Linked DNA regions of Homo sapiens: all the other regions are linked to region 6. The links are contacts of gene promoters, found by promoter capture Hi-C in human tissues and cell types (Jung and others, 2019). All regions are on one chromosome and are shown on one strand. Each heading gives the region's core, a stretch centred on a gene start or on the middle of the fragment in contact. The rest is flanking DNA. Distances are from core to core; before and after follow the strand shown. Region 1 has its middle 12 kb from the start of LINC02579. Region 2 overlaps LINC01805 (long intergenic non-protein coding RNA 1805). Region 3 overlaps AFTPH (aftiphilin). Region 4 overlaps AFTPH (aftiphilin). Region 5 overlaps SPRED2 (sprouty related EVH1 domain containing 2). Region 6 holds the start of SLC1A4 (solute carrier family 1 member 4).

What was found. The method cuts DNA at HindIII sites, captures the fragments that hold promoters and counts their contacts. A contact is called where the count stands out against the background at its distance.
Region 1: a fragment that was not itself captured here is called in contact with the fragment with the promoter of SLC1A4 in region 6 in 1 of the 25 tissues and cell types used here (lymphoblastoid cells).
Region 2: a contact is called between a fragment that was not itself captured here and the fragment with the promoter of SLC1A4 in region 6, in 4 of the 25 tissues and cell types used here (adrenal gland, aorta, dorsolateral prefrontal cortex and 1 more).
Region 3: a contact is called between a fragment that was not itself captured here and the fragment with the promoter of SLC1A4 in region 6, in 1 of the 25 tissues and cell types used here (lymphoblastoid cells).
Region 4: a fragment that was not itself captured here is called in contact with the fragment with the promoter of SLC1A4 in region 6 in 3 of the 25 tissues and cell types used here (bladder, lymphoblastoid cells and spleen).
Region 5: a contact is called between a fragment that was not itself captured here and the fragment with the promoter of SLC1A4 in region 6, in 1 of the 25 tissues and cell types used here (spleen).

Annotation. Positions count from the first base shown.
Region 1 is chr2:64,617,289-64,621,156 of GRCh38, reverse strand. No RefSeq gene overlaps it. Among named protein-coding and RNA genes, the nearest start is that of LINC02579, 12 kb to the right of the region's middle. The HindIII fragment of the contact is 5,254 bases long and covers 1-3,868 here.
Region 2 is chr2:64,499,936-64,504,299 of GRCh38, reverse strand. LINC01805 (long intergenic non-protein coding RNA 1805) reads right to left here. Exons shown (of 3, transcript NR_147011.1): 3 at 3,396-3,781. Among named protein-coding and RNA genes, the nearest start is that of LINC01805, 16 kb to the right of the region's middle. The HindIII fragment of the contact is 3,520 bases long and covers 201-3,720 here.
Region 3 is chr2:64,539,916-64,544,330 of GRCh38, reverse strand. All of the region lies in intron 1 of AFTPH (aftiphilin), which reads right to left. The region is part of intron 6 of LOC105374773 (a long non-coding RNA gene); the gene reads left to right. Among named protein-coding and RNA genes, the nearest start is that of MIR4434, 17 kb to the right of the region's middle. The HindIII fragment of the contact is 8,455 bases long and covers 1-4,415 here.
Region 4 is chr2:64,574,188-64,578,540 of GRCh38, reverse strand. The region is part of intron 6 of AFTPH (aftiphilin); the gene reads right to left. All of the region lies in intron 4 of LOC105374773 (a long non-coding RNA gene), which reads left to right. Among named protein-coding and RNA genes, the nearest start is that of LINC02579, 31 kb to the left of the region's middle. The HindIII fragment of the contact is 4,167 bases long and covers 13-4,179 here.
Region 5 is chr2:65,395,258-65,399,644 of GRCh38, reverse strand. All of the region lies in intron 1 of SPRED2 (sprouty related EVH1 domain containing 2), which reads left to right. Among named protein-coding and RNA genes, the nearest start is that of SPRED2, 35 kb to the left of the region's middle. The HindIII fragment of the contact is 5,409 bases long and covers 1-4,309 here.
Region 6 is chr2:64,987,571-64,991,496 of GRCh38, reverse strand. SLC1A4 (solute carrier family 1 member 4) reads right to left here and starts at 2,098. Exons shown (of 8, transcript NM_003038.5): 1 at 1,327-2,098. The coding sequence starts at 1,853. RefSeq lists silencers at 1,699-1,878, 2,089-2,788 and an enhancer at 1,512-2,096. The HindIII fragment of the contact is 13,271 bases long and covers 1-3,926 here.

The sequences.
Region 1 (3,868 bases), core at 1,271-3,770, 370 kb after region 6:
AATTTTTTGAATAAAGGTGCTATAAACATTTATGTGCAGGGGGGACATAAGTTTTCAGTTCATTTGGGTAAATTCCTGAGGGTGATCGCTGGATTATATGTAAGAGTATGTTCAGCTTTGCAAGAAACTCCCAAACTGCCTTCCAATGTGTGTGTATCATTTTGCATTCCCACCAGCAATGAATGAGAATTCTATTGCTCTTCAGCCACTTCAGCATTTGGTGTTGCCAGTGTTTGGGACTTTAGCCATTATAATAGGTGTGTAGTGGTATCTCATTGTTATTCTAATTTGCAACTCCCTAATGACATATTATGTTGAGCATCTTTTCATGTGTTTATTTGCCATCTGTATGCCTTTGGTGAGATGTCTGTTCCGATCTTTGCTCATTTTTAATTGAATTGTTTTCTTATTGTCGAAGGGTTCTTTGTGTACTTTGGATAGCAGTCCTTTATCAGATACGTGTTCTGCTAATATTTTCTCCTAGTCTGTGGCTCGTCTTTTCGTTCTCTCAACAATGTCTTTGGCAGAGAAGTTTTTAATTTTAATGAAACTCAATTTGTCATTTTTTTCTTTTATGTATCATACTTTTGGTGTTGTATTTAAAATGTCATCACCAAATCCAAGGTCACCTAGATTTTCTTCTGTGTTATCTTCTAGAATTTTTATAGTTTTGCTTTTATATTTAGATCTAGAATCTATTTTGAATTTTTTTTTAGGGGTGGAGTCTCACTCTGTGGCCCAGGCTAGAGCACAGTGGTGCAGTCATAACTCACTGCAACCTCGACCTACTGGGCACAAGCAATCCTCTCACCAAGTAACTGGGACTGCAGGTGATCACAACAGCTTTTACAGTACATCTTGAAATGGGGTAGCGTCAGCCCTCTGACTTTGTTTTCTCCTTCAATATTGTGTTAACTGTTCTAGTCTTTTGCCTCTCTACATAAACTTAAGAATTGCTTTGCCAGTTCCACAAAAGAGACAACTGGGAGTTGATTATGATTATATTGAATCTATAGATCAAGCTGGAAAGAACCGATATCTGAACAATATTGAGTCTCACCATCCACGAACATGGAATATCTCTCTATTTATTTAGATCTTTGATTTATTTTACCAGCATTTTATTGTTTTACTCATATAGATTTTGTACATGTTTTGTTAGATTTATACTAGAGTATTTCTTATTTTGAGGTGCTAATGTAAATGGTATTGTCTTTAATTTCAAATTGTAAAACATTCAACATTTTAACATTCCAAACATGAATCAGTTCACAATCTGACCCTCGAAATTTATTTTTCCCACTGAACTTAGACTCTCAACTCCTTCTCTAGCCAGACCTGCCCTCTGAGCTCACTTTTTCCTATGTGTCCCTCACTCAGTGCCCTGTCATTGCACCACCTTTTCTGAGCTGAGACTGCCACTCCAATCTCAGTCCTGCCTCCATTCCTTTGCATTAAATATGCTCAGCACCTCTATCTCTGTATTACGTTGAGCTCTCTGAAATTACTGTTTTTAGACCAAAAAGGGTTAAATATCTAGACTAGATGAGATTCTACTATGTCTCACTCCTTCTCATCCTCCAGTTCTCAGCTGAAATGCTCTCTCCTCAGAGTAGCCTTCTCTGACCACTCATCCCAGCCAGACATATCAGTCTGTTCTTCTCCAGCATTTGTCACTATCTAAAGCAAGGGTGTCTAATCTTTTGGCTTCCCTGGGCCACATGGGAAGAAGGAGAATTGTCTTGGGCCACACATAAAATACACTAATACTAATGATAACTGATGAGCTAAAAAAAAAAAAAAAAAGGAAAAAAAAACTGCTAAAAAAACTCATAATGTTTGGCCAGGCATGGTGGCTCATGCCTATAATTACAGCAATTTGGGAGGCCAAGGTGGGCAGATCGCCTGAGGTCAGGAGTTCGAGACCAGCCTCGCCAACATGGTGAAACCCCGTCTCTACTAAAAATACAAAAAATTAACTGGGTGTGGTGGCACATGCCTGTAATCCCAACTACTCAGGAAGCTGAGGCAGGACAATAACTTGAACCTGGGAGGCGGAGGCTGCAGTGAGCCGAGACCATGCCACTCCACTCCAGCCTGGGTGACAGAGCAAGACTCTGTCTCAGGAAAAAAAAAATCTCATAATGTTTTAAGAAAGTTTACAGATTTGTGCTGGGCTGCATTCAAAGCTGTCCTGGGCTGCACGTGGCCTGCAGGCCACAGGTTGGACAAACTTGATCTAAAGCTATCCCATTTATTCATTTGCTTCCTTGTTTCTTACTGTTTTTCCTCCTCTAGCATATAAACCTCCTGATACCAGGGGTCTTGTCTTGATCAACAAGCCCCTCAGAGACCAGCTGGTCTGGAGACCCCAGATACTTGTCCCACCCTAGGGAAGGGGAAGCACCCCTTCACCCCAAACTTGACTGATGTCATATTTCCAATGAGCTCTGTGTTTAGGAATGAAGCCTAATTTACCTGACATAGAACAATAGGGAAACATGATATTTCTGTCCCTAAATATTGAGGACCAAATTTGTAATTCCGTGATTGTGTGGTTGAATAGTAGCATGGATTGTTCAAATAAGGGATTCTGTTGGATGCAGAGGGGCTGAGTGAGAATGAGCTCTGGCCCAGAGACACCCATTTGTTTCCTTGGCTACCACCTCCTCCAGCCTGTTCTATGCCCAATAACAGAACAGGCTTCCTTACACCCATGGTGCTTCTCCAGCTCTGACTCTGATCTACAACTTCAGTGGCTCCCTATTGCCACAGGAAATATTCATTCCCCTTCCCATACCTTCAAGGCCCTGCTCTCTCCTGCCCCACTGACCCCTCCTGGAGTCGCTGCAAAGAAGTCCCCTTCTTTCCCCTCTGTCCATCCTTTGGAGCTCAGATTAAGCCCCAGCTCCTCCAGGAACATTCCCCATCCTCCTGCAGTATGCCCCCGTGTGCCTCCTGTCAGTGTCCCAGTTAGTCCGCTCAGCTCTCAGGGTTTCTTTGAGAATGTCTGGGGCCTGTTTTAGAGCTCAGGCTCTGGAAGAACAGGAACTGAGTCCAGAGACTGCGCACCAGCTTGTGAGTGTGACTTGTTGAAGTCAAAGGAAGAGAGGCTGACAGGCCTCCCAGCCAGAGAAGAACTTTGTAGAGGAAGTCTCTCCTTCGTGGGGACCAGACTCCCAAGAACATACCAGCTCAGAGAAGTCGGGTGTGGTGCCCTCGAGGGGAATCCATGCAGCAGTTCCTCCCCAGCTTCCTCCCCTCCCCACCCTCAAGTGCGGAGCCAGAACCCAGCTGACTCAAGTGGCAAGAAAAAAATGCCCCCTCCCCACCCCCCCGCCAAGCTGCTGCACATCTGTGCCCAGACAAAGCCAGCTATTAATCCTTGCCTTTGTGTGAGTGTTTGGGTGTTGAATTCCACTTGGATCTGCTGCCTTTTGGAAGGGGAGATTGGAGGGGATTTAGTGAAGACAAAAGGAACCCACTATGGGGAATGGTGGGGGGGGCAGGGGAGCTAAGAAACCCAAGCGCATTCACTCTTAGCCTGGTGAGGGTCCTGGGAGCCCAACTTTAGCTAGAGCTGAGTGGGGCACCTGAATTCCCAGGGTCTGAGTCCCGAAAAGGGGCCACTCCCCGGAATAAAAATACCTGTTTCTCAGGGCCTGACAGCAGCTCAGCTTGCCTTTCACTCCAGATGCTGCCCAGGGCAGTGGCCCCAGCCTAACAGGGCCTGACCCTTTCAGACTGGAGAAGCCCATTGCCCAGGTGAGTCCAAGGGGGACAAGACAGGAGGAAATAGGGACTAGGAAGGAGTCTGGAGCCTCAGAGACTGAGTCCAGATGGAGAGAGAATCTCAAAGCCACCAGAA
Region 2 (4,364 bases), core at 711-3,210, 490 kb after region 6:
CCTCTGCTTCCTGGGTTCATACGATTCTCCTGCCTCCTGAGTAGCTGGGATTACAGATGTGCCCGGCGAATTTCTGTATTTTTAGTAGAGATAGGGTTTTACCATGTTGGCCAGGCTGGTCTGGAACTCCTGACCTCAAGTGATCCGCCTGCCTTGGCCTCTCAAAGTGCTGGGATCACAGGCGTGAGCCACCACACCCGGCCTGATCTCTACTATTTTTAAAAATTATTTTTGTGGTTACAAATTAAAACACATTTATTTACGCCTTTTGGAAAATATAGAAAATATATTTAAATTAGAAACAACAACAGAACTCTCCAGGAGTTTATCTCCCCTTATGAAGGGAATCAGTTTACATTAAATGAAATCTGTGAAACAAATAACTCGGATCTAAAATATTTTGCTTATTCCATCTTCTGTTGTAAGTCATCTGTTTTTGCTTATAAGGAAGCTGAAGTGAGAACCTAATGAACTAAACAAAAAGCTTTTGACAGCTGACTATTGGAATGGGGTGAAGGTCTCGAATGAGGATAAACATGTGTGCTGATATCCATCAAGATACAGATTTCTCTGTTGTCATTAATTATGAAGGGATAAGGACACCATTGTTGTCAAATTGTTTTTCTGCAGGGCCTTATCCATGTAAAATGTAAACCTGTTACATCTGCATGAATTGAAAGGCTTGTGATAAAGGCTTAGCCAGTCATGAAAGGTAATTTTAGCAGATGGTAATGGCTCAAAAATTACCTCTTATTAGTCACATGAAGATATATACATATTAAGTTCAAAGCATTTTTCTTCTTCTTTCCCTCCTTTCCCTGAGTTTCTCTTCTTTAAGACCATACTATGTGACCTCTGGTGTTTTAGGCAGCAAACACCAGCTCAATTATTTTCCTTTTGCAGTGGCTTTAAAATAAAGTTCTTCTGACAGTTTATAAACCTAATATTCGATGAGAAGTTTTGTTTCTTCCACAGTGGCTAAAAAAAATATTCCAAGCTGAAAAACTGGCTTTAGAAAGTGGTGATCACACCAAAATACTCCCATGATTTTCAGGGTAGCCAGTAGGATGTCCCCGAAGTAGTTCCTCTCCCCACAGCACCTGCTCTCTCTGTCTCTCTTGCCCTTTCTTTTCCCTTCCTCATTCTTTCTTCCAAGCCTGCCTTCTCCCAGCCTCCCTGCACCTGAACTGGCTCTGGTTCTCCTACTCCTCCACGTCCACCGTTAGACTCACCCAGTGTGTATACTCAATCCAAACCAGCAAGGCAAGTAGCTCGGACCTTAGCCAAGTCAGACTACCTGTTTTTCTGCAGGCATACTCTTGGTGGGGGTGGGTCTCAGGACATCTATATAGTTTTTATTTTGTTTTATTTTATAAAAAATGGATTCATCTCTCTCCAGACATAGTGTTGGGAAAATTACTTGGGAAAAAAGAATGCTCATGGACATTTCCCCCTATTAATTCACGCAGTGCATTCCTCTTCTTTTTTATGGCTGCATAGTATTCCTTAATGGGGTCAACCACAATTTTTTTTTTGAGGTGGAGTCTCGCTCTGTTGCCCAGGCTGGAGTGCAGTGGCGAGATCTTGGCTCATCGCAAGCTCCGCCTCCCGGGTTCACGCCATTCTCCTGCCTCAGCCTCCCCAGTAGCTGGGACTACAGGTGCCCGCCACCACGCCCAGCTAATTTTTGTATTTTTAGTAGAGACGAGGTTTCACTGTGTTAGCCAGGATGGTGTCGATCTCCTCACTCATGATCTGCCTGCCTCGGCCTCCCAAAGTGTTGGGATTACAGGCGTGAGCCACCGTGCCCGGCCCACAATTTTGTTTTTTTAGCTAATCCCCATGTTGATTAACAGTAAGGCTTCTCTACTGTGTTTTGCTATGACAATAATGCCAGGATTTCTCTGTGAATTTGTCTGGAGAGTTGGGTAGAAAGTGAAAGGAAAGGTGCGTAGTAAGTTTGAAGCATGTCAAAAGGTGGGCAAGTATGGTTTTGGCTGTGATGATGATTTTGGCTGGTCAGAGGGCACCTGCAGAGTATAGCTAAATTCCTTGAAGATGGGGTGGGGGCGAAGGAGGAAGGAAGTAGAAAGGGCAGCTGAGGGGATAGGACAATGCCTGGATGGATGAGCAAGCTTTGTACTTGCCACCATCCCACTCCTTATTAGGCAACCAGTGCTATCTCTCAACTACCAAAGTGGGGTTAGAGAGGCCCAAAGTTAACTCATCTTTTCCCAGTCTAATACTTTAACTGCTGGCTCTTCTGTGCCTTAGTTTGGGAAGGCAGACTGAGATCAGCTTGTGGAAGGTCTTTAGTTCCCTACCAAGGGCTCTACAGCAATAGGGAAGACAGTTAGTGGACTGTGCTTGAGTTGAGACTTCAGTTCTCAGCTCAAAAGTTTGCTTTGCAGTCAGGAGTGGTGGCTCACACCTGTAATCCCAGCACTTTAGGAGGCTGAGGAGGGTGGATCACCTGAGGTCAGGAGTTCGAGACCAGCCTGCCCAGCATGGCAAAACCCCGTCTCTACTAAAAATACAAAAAATTAGCCAGGAGTGGTGGTGGGTGCCTGTAATCCCAGCTATTCAGGAGCTGGGGCAGGAGAATCGCTTGAACCCGGGAGGCGGAGGTTGCAGTAAGCTGAGATCATGCCACTGCACTGCAGCCTGGGTGACAAGAGCAAAACTCCATCTCCACAAAAAAAAAAAACCCAGAAAGTTTGCTTGCAACAACTCAAGTGTTCTTGGGAGATAAACAGCACAGAAAAGCCAACCTTGAGAAAGAACATAATATATCACCTATCTGGTTGTGCTTCAACCTAATTGTGTATCTTTATCTCCCAGGGTAGCTCCATTCTATTCATTGAACTCTGTCGATATTCTTTATGCTCTTTAACTGTCTATGACTATGTCCCCATAGCACCCCCATCCTCATAGCCCTGCTGGCTCCTTTGCCTCCCGTTTACTGTGCACATTCATAATGCACACTTGTAGCATCCAGCATGGCTTCTAAACACAAATATAACTTGTCCTCCAAGCTTGACTTCCTCTAAAGCATTTAAACCTTATGGTTACATTTTTTTTCTTCTTCATAGAATCTTTCAGTCATCATTTACTTGGAAACACTTGTTTCCTACAAGGCTCATTTTGCAAACAGCAAAGCAACTCCAATAATTGTAGCAATATGTAATCTGATATAATATGTATGTATTAAACTACATGTTTATCTGCAGTCTAACACCGGCCCCCAAATAACAAAATGCTGCAAATTTTAAAATTTTGCAGAGTACATTTGAGTCTCAAATTTATGAATTCCATTTTCTTTGCAGGGATGACGAAAGCGGAAGGCTTTTATTCCCCTTCCTTCTATTGTTGCTCACCTTTCAGTCAAAGCATGGGTCTGCTTCCCAAACTTCCTCCTTCCTTCTCCGTTCCTGGGTTTCCCTTGGAGCAACTCGCCACAGGGCCTCTGTTTGGCCTGGGCCTTTCCAGGATGCGTTACTTAGTCTTGGTTCTCAGGATCAGGTGAGGGCAACTCTCCTCTATGCTTAGCAGCCTGCCCAGCTGCTGCCATTTGCAGAAAGCTTGAACCCAAGGAGAAGCCCTTTACGATCTGGAAGAAGGTGCCATCAACATTGGTACCTTTGCTTCTCGCATCAGCACCTGACATGTCTCCTCCTGAAACTTTTTTCCTGCCTGTCTCTAGAGAACCATCTCCTTTTTTGCCAGGGCTTTCAGCCTTCATTTCTCCAGGAAGTGATTTTCTCAGTCTCTCCACAAAAACCTAGGAGGAAAGAAACTGGCATTTCATCCGTAATTGGCCATGGTGTGGTATCAAAAGGCAGTGGGAATATGAATAAGCTTTTTACATGGTTGACACAAATATGTCTTCCAACAAAAACCAGCTCCTGCCAACACTGGAATAGGTAGTGATATAGTTTGGATAGGTATTCCCTCTAAATCTCTGTTGAAATGTGATCCCCAGTGTTGGAGGTAGGGCCTGCAGGGAGGTGTTTGGATCATAGAGGCAGATCCCTTATGAAGGGCTTGGTGACCCCCCACCTTGCTCCACCCACTCCCCCTCGCCCACCTCCCCTACTTCCCCAGTAATGGGTAATGAGTGAGTTCTTGCTCTATTAGTTCACACGAGAGCTGATTGTTTATAAAAACCAGGCATCTCGTTCCCTCCTTGCTCCCTCTCTCACCATGTAACATGCCGCTCTCGCTTTGCCTTCCCACTGAAAGATTCCTGAGGTCTCTCCAGAAGCCGAGCAGATGCTGGTGCCATGCTTGTACAGCCAAATAAACCTCCTTTCTTTATAACTACCCAGTCTCAGGTATTCCTTTACAGCAATGCAAAACAGGCT
Region 3 (4,415 bases), core at 1,512-4,011, 450 kb after region 6:
AAGCCACTGTATACAAAAACAGTTGACAGGAGGGTCTCATAATTGGGTAGCAAACAGGATATCCTAGTAGTCAGAGCATAGAGATAGAGAATTTGGGTGGGCTTCCTGTACTTTGGAGATTTATCTATGAGAAATCACATCCTTATCAGGAGATTAGGGGACAATATAGGTGAATAAAAATAATTAATAGAAGTGCAAACTGAAGCCGACTTTCAGGGCTACGAACCAGGAAAATCAGAGGGTTTTGGGTTTGGGAATTCTGGCATAGAAGGTCCAATATAAAGGGGTCAGGGAAACAGTTTAGAAGCCCAATAGCAGTCAGCAATGGAACCTAAGCCCCAAGCCAGATTAGTAGCCAGGATGGCAGGGCATACAACAGGTGAAGGTGATTCTGTATTAATCTTCCACCAAAAGAGAAGCTGCACTTGCTTATGGAATTCTAACCTCTAGTCTGAAATGGTCATGGAAAAGAAGAGATGATGAGTCTGTAAGTTGTAAGCTCTGGGGTCAAAAGGCAAGATGGGCTTGAGAAGGCAGAAGGAAGGAATGGGGCCAACAACTGTCTGAGACTATTTGGCCATTTAAAAATAGTTTCTCAAGAAAAACAAAGTTGGAGGACTTAAACTACCTGATATCAAGACTTGCTTTAAAGTCACATGGTCTTGTGATAAAGATGCCACTGCAGTGTGGTGGGGAAAGGATAGACTCTTCAACAAATGATGCTGGATTAACTGGATAACCACACAGGCAGGAAAAAAAATATCTGATTCTAACATCTTATACAGAAATAAGCTCCAGATAGTTCATGGGCCTACATGTGAAAGGTGAAGCAATCAGCCTTCCAGAAGATAACAGAAGAGATTATTTGTATGACCTTAGGAAAGGCATAAATGTTTTAAACAAGAAACAGAAACACTGATTACAGAAAAGATTGATATATTGGACTGCATTAAAATTTAAAACTTCTCTTCATCAAAAGAATACCATAGAGTGAAAAACCAAGAAAGCCATTGCCTGGGAGAAGATATGTGCAAAACATGTAACTGTCAAAGAACTCATATCCAGAATATGGAAAGAATTCCTACAAGTCAATGTGGAACAATCCAACAGAAAAATGGCCAAAATATTTGAACAGGTATTTCACAAGACAGGATATCCAAATAGCCAACAGCATATAAAAAGTCATCAGGGAAAAATGTACATTAAAACAACAATAAAATACCACTATACATCTACCAGAATGACTAAAATTAAAATTATTCTCTCCACAGCCACTTTTGGTAAGGATGTGGAGAAACTGTGATTCCCACACTTTACTGGTGGAAGTATAAACTGGTACAGATATTCGGAAAACTGTTTGATAATATGTACTAAAACTATACCAGACCTTCAGTACCTGGCACATTCTGTGCACTAAGTAAATGATCAACTACCATTATATTTTAACTTTCACCAACTCTGTGGCTAAAATAATAACCTATCTGTAACAAAACCTAAGTCAATGTTTGCTTAGTTGGCACAAACATTCATATGACTCTATATTTTAAAAGGTCACTGAAAGAATAAGTCACTTAAGAAAAATATGCATAACCACACTAAAGATACATGAAGTTGACTTTATTGCCAGTTTTTCTAACCAATCCCTAGAAAATATAAAACTTGACTTATATAACTATATAATTTCATAGGCTTGGGGGCATGGGGGCGGGGGGATGCTGATAACAAACTAAATCTGAAGCCCAAGGTTGAAGGACTGAGATCATAACCTCTAAACAAGCTCAAGGGTCCAGTGACCAGTCTGTTAAAAGATGGAAGTTTTGAAGTGAAATAGAAAAATGCAACCCGGAAGTTCTCACTGGTATCTTGAAGTAAACTGCCTGTAGCTCCTATTTGGTTAGATGAACAACCACAAGAATTTAGAAGGTGCTTGGTTGGGATGGAAAAGATTCATCACATGTGGGAAATATATAGGGTATTCCCTACGTATTCCTCTAAGGAATAGTTAATCCCTGGTACCCTCCTACCCCCAACATCCACACACAGTATCATGCACCCTAAAGGTCCATGGGCTCACATTTGAGGGGGGTGGAGTGTCTCTAAGTAAGAGGCCCTCTAGCAATCTTTCCAGAATCAAACATCGAGAGTTCTTTCCAGACAAGTTAAAAACATACAGCACACACTGCTCAACTGGGAGAAACTCCCATCCTTTACAGGGTACCAGCCCAGCTGTATCAATGTGTACATCATCTTTCAAGGACAGATAAACTGACCTAGATTATACAACCCAGCTTCACTCTAAACTTATTTTTATAGGGACCAGGATGGAGGGTGAAGGAAAAGATATTGTAGAAAGAAGGATGGTGATAAAAGGGAGAAGAAAAACAACTGTATCTGAAATATGCTAATGACTTCAATAGTATCAATGACATTAGCAAAGTATATTTAATGGATGACAAAAAATAATCACCATCTTTTTACCACAATATGTCTGAGGTTTATAATTAGTCACTTGGGTGAGTGAAGGAAAAAACAAAAAAGAAAAACCGTATTTTCTTTAGAAAAATGAATGAAAATGTCACGTAAGCATTAACAACATCAATTTACATTACAAGTGTTGCCTGGTGTACAGTAGTTCAAATTCTTCCAAATCTTTATAATATCCTTATGGAAATTTTAAGGTCATATCAAAATGTACTGTCAATGAATTTGCCCAGCCTACATTTCTGCTTGAGTCATAAAGAAGTAGAAAAGAGCCCTTCTTCTGAACCACATGAAGATTTGGGTTTTAGTTAACTTTTTGGTTTTCAATATATTTAGAGTGCTATGATATCACAGTTGTTTTCACAGCTCTAAATTTTAAAATCTACAGAAATAATTGTTTTTTCTTTTTGGGTGTTTTTTCTTTTGTTCTTAGCATATTAGCACAACAGAAATTAATACAGGCAGAGCCTCTAATTAACTTGCCAGCCTAAAAACAAAAACCCAAGATATCAGACACCAACTGTATGTCACTGAGTCACCAACTGCATAATATGTTATTTAAGATGACATTTGTTAAATAAATAGTATCTTCCACGTGTTTTCACTCCATGTTTACACCAATGTCATTATTAATACTTATTGAGTGCTTACTATGGGCCAATATTATGTGAAGAGAACTCGTGAGTTATCTCAATTATCTCCTCATACTATCATATGAGGTGGAAATGCTTCATTTTAAAGATGAAGAAATAAAAGCTCAAAGAGGTTAAGTAATCCTACAAGGTAGCATAACTAGTAAGTGGTGAATTAATCACAAGTTAATCAAACATTTTATAAGTGTCTTAAAATATTAGACGTGATTGACGGCAAATATTACAATTATAAAAATTCTTACAAAAAGGCTTCTGAGTGGTTCAGAAAAAGGTTTCTGAAACCTCCAAGTAACTTGGAAGGGGAAAGATTTTTACAAGACAAGAAAGTACAGTATAACCAACAAAAATGCCAAGCAGCAAATATCTTGTTTCAGTATTAGTGTATATAGTACAAAATATGAGCAAACAATGAAAATGAGCAGCAAAATACCTTTATACTGAAGTTGATCACCCTAAAAAAGCCACACTGTCAATAGTGACAACAAAAAATTTTGTCTTTCTAGTTTTGATGTCAATACAATTGACACATAAAAGTAAAAATATATATATAATGTCAGTTACATGAGCTGCAACACACGTTCACTTTTCAAGTGCTACTTACCTTGTTAAACAGCAATGAGTTATTTGAGAGAAGTTGGTTTTCAAAAATTCCCATGAAAAATTTTTTCTTCTACCGAACATTTTAACCTTCTACACAAATTCATAATAACATATTTTATTTGCATTTGGATAGTTTCATGTAATAATTAAACAAGATAAAAATATTAGAGATTGTTGTACCTTTAACTCATCATATCAGCTGACCATATTTGAGAGTTTACTAGCTATTTTTCCCAAAAGGTACTTCAACATAAAATTGAATACATAACATTGGATAACTATTGATAACAAGGGCAACAAAATGGAAGCATCCACGAGGATGGATGGATTAGCCCTTGGAAAACATTTTTTTTGCCCTAGAACTCTCAGCTTCTATTATATAGATGCAGAATAAATTAGTCACTCTAATTCTCTACTCTCATATCCCTGAAACTCTGCAATGAAAATAGAATCTGAAAGGCAGAAACTGCTTTGATTTCATGTCCCTTCACTAAAATCTTGCTTACATCCACAATCTTGTCTACAGATAATCCCTGGACCTTCTGTTTTTCTTCTCAACTGCTTGCTCAGGGGCTTTTAAAAATTTTCCATCACTATTGATCCTTTCCTATAAACGTTCAGCCTCTTCCATACTCAAAACAAATCAGAACAAAACAAAACAAAACAGAATCCTCTCTTCTG
Region 4 (4,353 bases), core at 847-3,346, 410 kb after region 6:
TAAATTTCGTAACTGTCAAACATATAAAATAAGCAAATGGTAAATTTAAGATGGAAGGCAGTGCAAACACATTTTTAAAATAAGCATTCACACTTCATTTTAAGAATATTCTTACATGAAAAAATGTTGGTTGTTTTTTTCTTTTCTTTTGGGGATGGTGTTAAAATAACCTGTATTTTATTAGACTTTTGATATCAAAATGTTATCGTCTTTTTTTGGACATCGCTTACCACTACGCTTTATTGTAAGGCAGGCACTGTTAAAACTTTATATTTTTTTCTGCGTAGGTAGGTAAGATCACTTGCTGTTTTTTATAGAAAAGGAGCATGAATCAGTTATTTTTGTAAAGTCTAACTCCATGATATTATAATACGACTGTCTGGATAACTGGGATACCAATGACAGGCAAATTAATTTAAGTATTTAGTCTCCAAAAATCAGGTCCAGCCTGGAGCAAGGTATAAACCAAGTAAAATACTAACATTAGTTAGTGGGTGTAAGGGATGGGATAGGGATGGTTGTGGGGCAGTGACTATTAAGGGTGTTCTTAATGGTGGTGGTGGAAGAGTTTTGTATCTTGACTGGTGGTGGTGGTTACAGGAATCTACCTATGTGATATAATGATATAGAACTATATACACATATTGTACCAATGTCATGTTCCTGGTTTTCACATTATAGCATATTATGTAAGATGTAACCATGGAGGAAACTGGTGAAGGGTACAAGGGACTTCTCTGTACTACAGTTGCAACTTCCTATGAATCTATAATTATTTCAGATAAAAGTTAAAAAACTGCTGAAAACCTAGTTTATAACCTACCTGCACAGCTAATAAATATTTAGAAATATCTTCTTTAGCTGATCATAAAAGGAAACAAACATCTCTAAGCATTCTAGCAGATTCAACTTACTCCACTTCTAGATCAGTGACACCTTTGGGCATATTCAACACTGAATGAATGGACAAAATCTAGGTTTATACAATAACGATTTCTGAATAAATGGAGCAAGTTCTTTCATGAACACATTCTATCTGAATGATGTCAAGTAGCTGGGTGCTTAGAAATATTTCAATGATTTAATGATTTGCTGAAATCTGAGCTGCTCAAACAGGGGTATGGTATTTTGAAGACAGCCAAAATCATAATGAGGTGATAAACACGAATCGACATTTAACGGAAATGAAAAAGGTGAAAAACAGGATACCGAAGCAAAAAAAGACTAAAACTAATGATGTTCACAAGTATACAAGTATGGAAACTCAGAGAAAGCTTGAGAATGAAGCATTTTAAAACCACTTGAAGCAATGTGGTATGAATTATTACTGCAGAGATAAAAGCACTAGGCAAATAAGGTCACAATAAAAAAGAACAAAAACATGGAGACAGGAGGCTTGGATTCCAGTCCTAGCAGTACCACTAATACATGGTTTTGGGTAAATCACTTAGCCTTTCCAATGCTGTAAAAAGTGAGCATGGTGGCCAGGCGCGGTGGCTCACACCTGTAATCCCAACACTTTGGGAGGCCAAGGTGGGTGGATCACTTGAGGTCAGGAGTTTGAGACCAGCCTGGCCAACATGGTGAAACCCCGTCTCTACTAAAAATATAAAAATTAGCCAGGTGTGGTGGCAGGTGCCTGCAATCCCAGCTACTCAGGAGGCTGAGGTAGGAGAATCGCTTGAACCCAGGAGACAGAGGTTGCAGTGACCTGAGACTGCGCCATTGCACTCTAGCCTGGGCAACAGAGCAAAACTCTTGTTTCAAAAACAACAAAAAAAAAGTGAGCATGGAACTACATAATCATTTTTTCTTTTCTAGCTCTAAAATTCTGATTCACAACTAAAATACATCAGGCAGTCTAAGAGAAGTTGCTACCGGTGACTAGATGGATAACTGCCAGTCAGAGTGTTGACCCTACTCAGCAATGAATAAAGTGTAAAGTATTGACCTTACTAAGAGGGAAATCAGTAGTGGCACAATGGTGTGACCTTGAAATTCAGCAGATAAAAATGAAAACACACACACAATCCCAAAAAAGGTAAAATTACTGTTTTCACCCTTAAACTAAGTTAATAAATTTCTAAACAAGAGATGCAATAGTTATAAGATCAATGAATACAAGCCAATTTGGAAGATAAAAACAAACTCAATGGGTACCAAAATTGGGATAGGACAGACAGACCCAAAAGCATGCAGTCATAAGGGGAATTATACAATTGTGCTTGTGCTAAGTTTGAAAGCCACTGTTGCTTCTAGCACTAAAGGCTAGGGGCGTAGGAAGATGTAACTTCCTGCATGGCCAAAAAGTAAAATTACATATATTTACATATATATATATGTTATATATATATATGTATATGTAAATCCATATATATATACATACACACACACACACACGTATTTCATTTGTATGACACACGTGTGTGTGTGTGTGTGTGTGTGTGTGTGTGTGTGTGTGTGTGTAGCATGCCAAAGAAGAGTGGTAAGAAATATTTTCTAGGCCGGGTGCGATGTCTCACGCCTGTAATCCCAGCACTTTGGGAGGCTGAGGTGGGCAGATCACTTGAGGTCAGGAGTTGGAGACCAGCCTGGCCAACATGGTGAAACCCTGTCTCTACTAAAAATACGAAAATTAGTCTGGTGGTGTGGTGTGTGCCTGTAGTCCCAGCTACGTGGGAGGCTGAGGCAGGAGAATCACTTGAACCCGGGAGGTGGAGGTTGCAGTGAGCTGAAACCATGCCACTGCACTCCAGCCTGGGTGACAGAGCAAGACTCTACCTCCAAAAAAAATATATACACACACACACACACACACACACACACACACACACACATATACACACATACATATATATATAAAATTTTCTGTAAAGAGACTCTTTAGAAAATGTACTTCAGATGTTTGTTAAATTTTTTTTTTCGAGGCAGGGTTTTACTCTGTTGCCTAGGCTGGAGTGCACTGGTGTGAACATGGCTCACTGCAGCCTCAAGCTTCTGAGCTCAAGTGATTTTCCCACCTCAGCCTCCTTAGAGGCTGGGACTACAGGCTCATGCCATCATGCCTGGCTAATTTTTGTAGAGGCAGGGTTTTGCCACGTTGGTTAGGCTGGTCTCGAACTCCTGGGCTCAAGCAATCCACCTGCCTTGGCATCCCAAAGTGCTGAGATTACAGGCATGAGCCACCAAGCCTGCTCTGTTAAATATTTTAACCTGAGTCAGAGGTATGGAGTCAAGCAAGGACCATACAATTCTGTGATGGAGGTCAGGCATCTTAGCACAAAATTCTAAACATGTTTTTCATTAGGTCATCTGGACTACTTTTTTGTCAAGTCCATAGTGAAATTATAAAAGAAACATGATAAGCTATGACTAAAATGAAATACACAGTAAGATCAAATCAGCTAGAGGAAAAAATTACAGGCAACAGCTAACTGATACAATAAGCAATAGTTTATGGGGTTGTAAGGTGGAAGTGGTTAGATGGAGGAGGAAGCAAGCAAAACTAGCAACAAATGGTCTCAATAAGTACAGCTCCATTTTCAGTGAATGTACCAAGTATGAATGTACCAAGTAGTTACTCAAAATACTTTCCTAATACCTAACACTGTAGGAATAAGAATGCAGATGGAGGCAGAAATAAAAATGTGCCGTGGGAAAGGTAATTCTGAAATATGCATAGACAGGGCAGACCTGGGATAGCAGTTTATAGCCAGAGGGCGTATCAGGGCAGCAAAATTAAGGTAACTAAGAACAGATTCTACCTACGGAGACATTCTGCCCAAGCCACTTTGTCTGCTGCCCAACCATCAAGGCCAGGCATTGTAAACATCAAGGTCCTCTGGCCCACTAATTCAGTGCTAGTAATAAGCTGGCTTCAAAGTAACATTTAAGCTATGCCCAAGTATAAAACACAGTGGTACACAGCAGTAATATTAGATGTTTCTTGAAACACACCTAAAATGGCAGGACCTATGCTTTACACATTTTCTAAAGTATGTTCTTCAAAACACTAGTTCTGCAGGTGCTACCACTCCCCTCTCCTCTGATCTCTGCAATAAAAGGTCCTGTGGCCAAGTAAATTTGAGAAATGAATTAAAATTAAGGCCATTCATTGCAGGACTCTTCAATGTCCTTAATGTGTGTTGTGATCTCTAAGGGTGGTTATGGGGGTATGATATGAAGTATTTCCCAAACTTACTTTACCCTGGAACCCTTCAGTGGACCACCTCTGGGGATTAATGTTCAATGGGAACACATTTTGGGAAAGGCTGTCCAAGCATACACTTTTTGTGTTAGATACAATTAAAAATGACATCTAAGGTTAAGAAATGACAAAACATGGCAAGAATA
Region 5 (4,387 bases), core at 356-2,855, 410 kb before region 6:
CTTTGGGAGGCCGAGGCAGGCAGATCACAAACTCAGGAGTTCGAGACCAGCCTCGCCAACATGGTGAAACCCCGTCTCTACTAAAAATACAAAAATTAGCCAGGCGTGGTGGCGTGCACCTGTAGTTCCAGCTACTAGGGAGGCTGAGGCAGAAGAATCACTTGAACCCGGGAGGCAGAGGTTGCAGTGAGCTGAGATCGCACCACTGCACTCCAGCCTGGGCGACAGAGAGATTCCCTCTCAAAAAAAAAAAAAAAAAAAGAATAATAGTTTCCAGTTCTATCCAGGTTGCTGCAAATGCCATTATTTTGTTCGTTTTTATGACTGAGTAGTAGTATTCCATGGTGTATATATATACACCTTTTTTTTTTTTTTGAGACAGATTTTCGCTCTTGTTGACCAGGCTGGAGTGCAATGGCGTGATCTCGGCTCACCGCAACCTCTGCCTCCAGCTTCAAGCGATTCTCCTACCTCAGCCTCCCAAGTAGCTGGGACTACAGGCGCCCGCCACCACACCCGGCTTATTTTTTAAGAGAGACAGGGTTTCACCGTGTTAGCCAGGATGGTCTCGATCTCCTGACCTCGTGATCCGCCCACCTTGGCCTCACAAAATGCTGGGATTACAGGCATGAGCCACCGCGCCCAGCTATACCACATTTTCTCTATCCACTTGTTGGTTGATAGGCATTTGGGGTGGTTCCATATTTTTGCAGTTGCGCATTGTGCTTCTATAAACATGAATGTGAAAGTATCTTCTTCATATAATGACTTCTTTTCCCAGTAGTGGGATTGCTGGACCAAATGGCAGTTCTGCTTTTAGTTCTTTAAGGAATCTCCACACTGTTTTCCATAGTGGTTGTATTAGTTTACATTCCCACCAACAGTGTAAAAGTGTTCCCTTTTCAGCACATCCACACCAACATCTATTATTTTTGGATCTTTTGATTATGGCCATTCTTGCAGGAGTGAGGTGGTATCTCATTGTGGTTTTGATTTGCATTGCCCTGATAATTAGTGATGTTGAGTATTTCTCCATATGCTTGTTGGCCATTTGTATATCTTCTTTTGAGAATTGTTCATTCACGTCCTTAGCCCACTTTTTGATGGGATTTTTTTTTTCTCGCTGAGTTCTTATAGATTCTGGATATTAGTCCTCTGTTGGATGTATAGATTGTGAAGATTTTCTCCCACTCTGCGGGTTGTCTGCTAACTGTGCTGATTGTTTCTTTTGCTGTGCAGAAGCTTTTTAAGTTTAAGTCCCATATATCTTTGTTTTTGTTGCATTTGCTTTGGGGTTCTTGGTCATGAAGTCTTTGCCTAAGCCAATGTCTAGAAGGGTTTTTCCAACGTTATCTTCTAAAATCTTTTTGGTTTCAAGCCTTAGATTTAAGTCTTTGGTCCATCTTGAGTTGATTTTTGTATAAGATGAGAGATGAGGATCCAGTTTCATTCTCTACATGTGGCTTGCCAATTATCCCAGTACCATTTGTTGAATAGGGTGTTCTTTTTCTGCTTTAAGTTTTTGTTTGCTTTGTCAAAGATCAGTTGTCTGCAAGTATTTGGTTTTATTTCTTGGTTCTCTATTCTGTTCCATTGGTCTATGTGCCTATTTTTATACCACTACCATGCTGTTTGGGTGACTATGGCCTTACAGTATAGTTTGGAATCAGGTAATAGGTTGCCTCCAGATTTGTTCTTTTTGCTTAGTCTTGCTTAGGCTATGCAGGCTCTTTTTTGATTGCATGTGAATTTTAGGATTTTTTTTTCTAGTTCTGTGAAGAATAATGGTGGTATTTTGATGGGAATTGCATTGAATTTGTAGATTGCTTTTGGCAGTATGGTCATTTTCACAATATCGATTCTACTCATCCATGTAGCTCAGGTACTTTGGAGTGGGGGATATGTCTAAAGGAGTCTAGCTAAGATGAGGCTCCTGTCTTCAGGAAGTGGGCAATCTATTTAGAAAGGCCTGGGTCTGTGGATTATACATATGTTACCTTGTATTGTGAGTAAAGGGCAAAAAAAAAAAAAAAAAGTGATGCTAGAAACAGATTGTAGAAATGTGAAGGGTCAGGTTGGGACATTCTGCCCACAGCTGGGCAGGGTTGGACCTAGTGATGGACCAAGAAATTATCTTGGTTTAGGTAGTTGTGAAAAGCTTGACAGAAGAGAAAGGAATTGAGCTTTGCTTTGAGTGATTAGTAGGGTTTAGGTAAAAAGGAAAAAGAGAGACATGTCATAAGCCACAACCCATTCTGGTTGCCAGTGAGAAAAGTTAACCCTGCTCATTTGTTCAGGATGGGGGCGGTGAGGGCTGGGTTTATTACTTGGCGCTGTCTGTGGCTAACTTGTGACAGGCCTGAGTCATTTTCAGGGTACTCAGGAGTAAATACTGTGATAGGGGTCTCAGAGGCCAGGCCATGCAGATGCATAAGCCTGGTGCCAAGATGTAGTGTGTATCTGTTTCTTTATCAAAATTTTTCTACTTTGGTATTTCATTCAAAACAAGGAGAGAAAAGTCAAATCTTTTTCCTTTTCCCTTTTCTGATGGCTATGACTGAATTTTTTTTTTTCATGAACGATTCTTGTGTTCTTATTTAAAAGAAGAATTTGGCATATGGCAGACCTCCTCAAGCTATCTTTAGTTGGTTGTGGGGTGTAAGTGATTAAGAATGCAGCTGTACTTGCTACCAGCACATGCTTTTAAGGAGATTGCTAAGCAGACAGGCCTGGTTAGAAGTTTAGAATAGCCTCTTGGAAACAAAGATCTAATTTTTCAAGTGCATGGTATACAAGAGTCCCTCCCTTCAGGACTGAAGCACTGAGGGCTGTTTGCATCAGAGCAGGGTGACTTATTTGTTTAAAATGGCAACACCCTTGGCTCTGGGGAGGCGGCCATGCTTCACTTGGAGGAGACAGGGGAAGCTGGCTTCACTTCACTTTGTATAGTTTGGCTTCACTGCTCCTTTGGAATAAAAAAATTCTTTACTTCTCTAGTATGTCCCAGGACAAACCCATCTCTGTCCTGTTGCTCAGTTATACTACAGTGCTGGTTCCGTAGTCTTCAAAGCTTGGAACTCCCTCTTGCCTTTGCTCCAAAAATTTGTTCTTTCACTCAGCAAATATTTACCAAGTTTCTGCTATATGCAGGACCGTGTGGAGAACTCAAAGATGAATCAGACGTGGGGCCTGTCCACAAATGTTGTCAGTCAAGTGTAGGACATAGGGCAAGCACACGGGAGCTTTTGCTGTTGTGTCCAAGAATAGCATGATGCGCCGTAGGTATTTGGTGGGGGAAGGAAATTAGTGGGTGGGTTTCAAGTAAACCCACATGGAGAAGGTGACATTTGAGTTGAGCCTTGAAGGACAGGTTTATCTGTGCAGAGAGGGAAGTTTTAGGCAGAGATATAGCACAAAAGTTAGAAAACAAAACCAAAACAGGTGGAAGAGAGGAAGAGTAATCAACCTTTAACTGCGTTGCCATGCCCTTGACTGAGGCCTCACCCACATTATCCCATCTAATCCTCCTCATAAGAAAACTTTTTTCCTCATAAGAAAACTAAGGCCTGCAGCATTAAAATAACTTGCCCGAGAAGGCTCATAAGTGGTTAGAGTGGAGATTTGAACCCAAGACAGTTCAATTCCAGATTTGAACTGAGCAGGCTTTAGCCAGAGCAAAAGATATTTGAAGAGAAAAAGGAGTAATTTGAAGAGATAAAGTTTAGGAAAAAAAAGTGACTTGAGGCAGATGGAAAAAAGGACCCTGAGTCCTGAGCTAATTACTCTGTAAGCAGCAGGGAGCAATTGAAGGTTTTTAATGGAGTGTGACGTGGCCACAGCAGGACTTCCAGCAGTAACTGCAAAAATATTTGATATTTGAGTTCATTACTGTGTGCTGGACACTATCCCAGGTGCCCGATACCCCTAACCTGTTTTAATTCTCATAACTGCCCTATGAGATAGGTGCTGTTGATGCCCACTTCTACCCATAAGGAAACCGAGTACACATTTAGAGACCTTAAATGACTTTTTAGAAGTGGATCGAATATGATGTGCAAGATGAATTGAGGTCAGAGGCAGAGGTAAGTCAAGACACTACAGGAAGCCATGAGAGACAGGTGATGCGGGGTGTGGTAGAAAGGAATGGATGAGTGTGAGGGAGTTGGGGTTCAGCTGAATGGATGAGTGTGAGGGAGGTGGGGTTCAGTTGGGGCAGAGGCTTCTAACTTCCACTGCGTAGGGTACTGCCGTGGTGAGAACCCTGGAGAGAAGGGGAAGGGGGAAAGTCCTCTTCTTTTTCAACCCCACACACAGACTTGAAGGTCAGGTTGGGACACTCTGCCCATTCAGCTGGGGCTGAAGACAGGTATCAGGGCTGGACCTAGTG
Region 6 (3,926 bases), core at 849-3,348:
AGGATCCCAACACTGCACTCCAGTCTGGGCAAAAGAGCAAGACCCAGACTTTAAAAAAAAAAAAAAAAAAAAAAAGCTGTGATCCCCTTAAAAGTCCTAATAGGCCACCACTATCTGCCCTTTTGGCAAGAACTTTTGGTCTCCCTCATGAGTGGTTTTTTTTTGTTGTTGTTTGTTTGTTTTTAAATACGGATGTCCTAGATTTTTGTTGTTTTAAGTGAACAATCTCTCTCTTAAGTGCAGACAGCCATCACATTTTCCAGAAGGAGAAATGGAAACAGTTGGAAAGGCAAGTCACTTTGCCCAGGGTTTGCTGTTTTTCACAACCTCAGCAATGAGGAGCTTTGCCTCAATAACTCAAGACAAAATATATTAATAACTCCAAGGCTCAGAATCCAAAATCATCAGAAATCTGGAGAAGGAGCCAGCTGGACTCCTCACTCAACTGAACCTGGTTAGATCAGTAAATGCCTCCGGGCTGCAGTTTCCCCATTTGTGAACTTTGGGCTAATGGAGAAACCAGGAGAGACCAAGGTTTTGGATAAGTCACAGAAAGGATACTACATCATCTCAAAGGATGAAATGCAACTTCTAAGAATTGCAAAAAGCAGGCAAAACTAAGTGAAGATGCTTCTCTCCCTCCCCTCTAGAACTCACACTTTCGCACAAAGAAAGGCCTTTGAAACACAGCACTCTGCCGTGGTCTTTACTGGGGTGGACAGCAACCTGTCCCAAGCCCCAAGCCCTCAGGAGAGGCATATTTCTGGGCAATATGTCTCACTCAACTAACCCCAGCCCTATTATCCGTGGGTCCACTGATAACTGCAGAAAATTGCCAGCTTCCTTCGCAGCCAAGGACTGTAACAGAGAAGGCCATAGATTGCAAGCCGGATGACCCAAGAGGCAAAACTTAACCAATGCTCCCAGAAGCTTTTAGGCACCATGTGGGAGAAAATGAGGCGAAGCCACTGGGGCGTGGTCGGAACATTTTTACCGGGGAGAGCAGCGCGAGAGTATAAGGAGTAAAGAACAGGCGGGGCGGCTGGCTCTTCCCTAACAAACGCCCACCTAACGGTGGGGACTGGTTCTTGCTCAAAGATGCGGCCCTGCTCTTTCGATTGTGCGGTGCGCCCCAGCTGTTTGCAAAGGTGTGGTCAGCACGCAAAAACTCCAGACGTCATTTTGATATTTTTAAAACGTTAAACGCCACCAGCAGCCAGCTAAGAATTAACTCTTAGGAGTGTATAAGCATATGGGTGTATGAACTGGAGGGCATCCGAGAACTGGCGTCTCCCACTGGGCCCTGGGAGAGGTGGAGAGTGTTACCTGGCCAGGTCGAGGAAAGAGTCCACCGTCTCTTTGGGGACAGGAGGAGGCCCCGAGTCCTCCAGCCCCAGGTCGCTGGACTGAAGGGTCTGCGCACCGGATCCTGGCTTGATGATGAACGCCAAGGCCACGGCGAGCGCCGAGGCACTCAGTGTGGTGAGGCCAAAGTAGGCGACAGCGATGCCGCCCAGACGCCCGAGGCAGCTGGCATCGAGCGAGGCGGCGCCCGACACCAGGCTGCAGACCACCAGCGGCAGGATGATCATGCGCAGCATGCGGAGCAGCATCTCGCCGGGGAAGGCCAGGTAGGTGACCTGCGTGCGGCTCAGGCTGAGCCCGCGCAACGCCGCGCCCAGGCCCGCGCCCGCCAGCACCCCGGACACGGTGAGCAGCACCAGCGCTTGGCGCCGCAGGAAGCCCGCGCAACGCCGTGCGCGTCCCGCCGCGGTCCCCGGAGCTCCGGGCCCGGCCGCAGGCCCCGCCTGAGCGCTGTCAAGGTAGCCGTTGGTCTCGTTGCTCTTCTCCATGGCGCTACACGCCGCTCCGAGCTAGAGGTGGCAGGGGACGTGGGCTCTGGCAAAAGACGGGGTTCCCAATGAATGGGTCGGTCGGCCAGTTGTGCTCCGCAGGTTCTGGGAAGCCGCCCCGGGGGTCTCCGGGCCTGGCGCAGGAGCAGGTGCGAGAAAGGCGAGGAGAGGCGCAGAGTGCGGGTTGGAGCCGCGGGCGGAGAGGATCGCGCCCAGCCTCCCTGGAGCAGCCGCCGGCTGGAGATGATGCAAACGGGAGCCGCGAACGCGGACGCAGACGGGGAAGTAGGAGGGCGCGCCAGCGGCCCCAGCCCGCTCACTTCACGCCCGCCGTCCCGCCCCCTGTGGCGCTGGCCAATCACAGCCCGGGAGCCGCCGCCGGGAGCCGCCGCCGGGAGCCTCTGGTCCCCACCCGTGTCGCGGGTGCCGCAGGGGGCGGCCGGGCGGGAGGCTCCACCCGAGGCCGCGGGGGCGCGGGCGGCGCCGGCCAATCCTGGCGCCAATAGCCGCCTACCCGCCCGGCTAACGGAGGCCGGCTCCGGGCGACCGCGGGGAAGTGCGGGCTGAAGGACCGCCCGGGCTCCTTGGCACCTGCCGGGCCCTCTCCCGCGGCCGGGATCTGAGTCCTCGGGGCCAGAGGGCCCGGGAGAACTTAGAACGCAGCGGCGTTCCTCCTCCTGAGGACTGTGGGAGGGGAGGGAGGGGAGGGGAGAAGAGAGGAGGAGAGGGGAGGATCCCTCTCTCCCGGGTGGCGCTTTCGCCCCGCGCGGCCCGCGCTCCTCTCCAGAGCTCGCCGGCCTCTCCCGCCAGGGGGCCGGGCGCGGTGAGGGGGCCCGGGGCGGTCCTGCCGTCGCGTCCCCTCCTGCGGAAGATCCCTTCTTCCAGGGGTCCTCAGGGGCTTGTGCGGTAAAGCACGCCATGGTGCCCAGCAAGGCCCCGGCCTTGAGACAAAGGACGGACCGGAGGATGGATGAATAAGGGGAGCCTTCGCACGCGCTCATTAGGGCTCTAACGCAGCCATACCGCTAGAGAAAGGGGGCTCGCTGTGCCACCAAACCCGGCGCCCCTGGGCCGCGGAACCGCGCGCACCGGGGCGCTCCTGGGCTTGTGTCCTGGGGCCATCAGGATGGGGCTGGGTCGCCCGCCAGGCAGCTGTCTGCGGTATGGGCGTTTAAGACGCAAAGCTCTTCTAGAAGAAACAGAGCTCTCACGCCACCACTTCCAGTTGGTTTCTGCCACGTAACCAAAGCTGAAACACAAGCCACTGGATTTTAACCTCTTCCGTTCCCAGGCCTGAGCCCTGGCGAGAAAACAGCGCAGACGGCGGTTTGGCCATCCTGAACGGTTCCTTATTGTTCACGTTCTATGGATTTCCTGTTTATTTCATCTTTTATTTGATATCTGCTTTGGCCACGCGAGTTACAAGGGAAACTTCTGCTGAGTCTTTTTACTGTATCACAGTTATTATATTTTTATATTTTTTTATTCTGCTTGTGAATTGTTCTTTAAAGACTTCCGTGGGTGGTCTTTTGTTTTTTCTTTTTCCTTCCTTCCTTCCTTCCTTCCTTCCTTCCTTCCTTCCTTCCTTCCTCCCCCCCTCCCTCCCTCCCTCCCTTCCTTCCTTCTTTCCTTCTTTCCCTTTCTTTCCTTTCTTTCCTCTCTTTCTGGGACAAGGTCTCGCTATGTTGCCCAGGCTGGTCTCCCAGTTCCTGGGCTTATGGGATCCTCCTTGGTAGCTGGCACCACCCACTGTGCCAGGCAAGGGAAGACTTAATTGTGGCTAACCTCAATTAAGGAGGAAGGCAATTTACTATAGATTTCTTGCTATAAAGGAGTCATCTTAAAACATGTCATGACATATTTGTGCAAATCAAAATGCCTTCATAAGGAACTTTAAGGAGCTGTCCAAATTTTGAGACAGTGAGTATTTTATTGCTTGGAGCCAGCCAGCTATTGGCTAGAACTTGTAAGGATTGTGTGTGGGGGGGGGGGGGGTGGGCGGGGGAGGTAGTGTCAGATGAAGAGCTGCACATATTTATATCTGGCTTTCCAGAATGCAGTTCATTTCTCTAT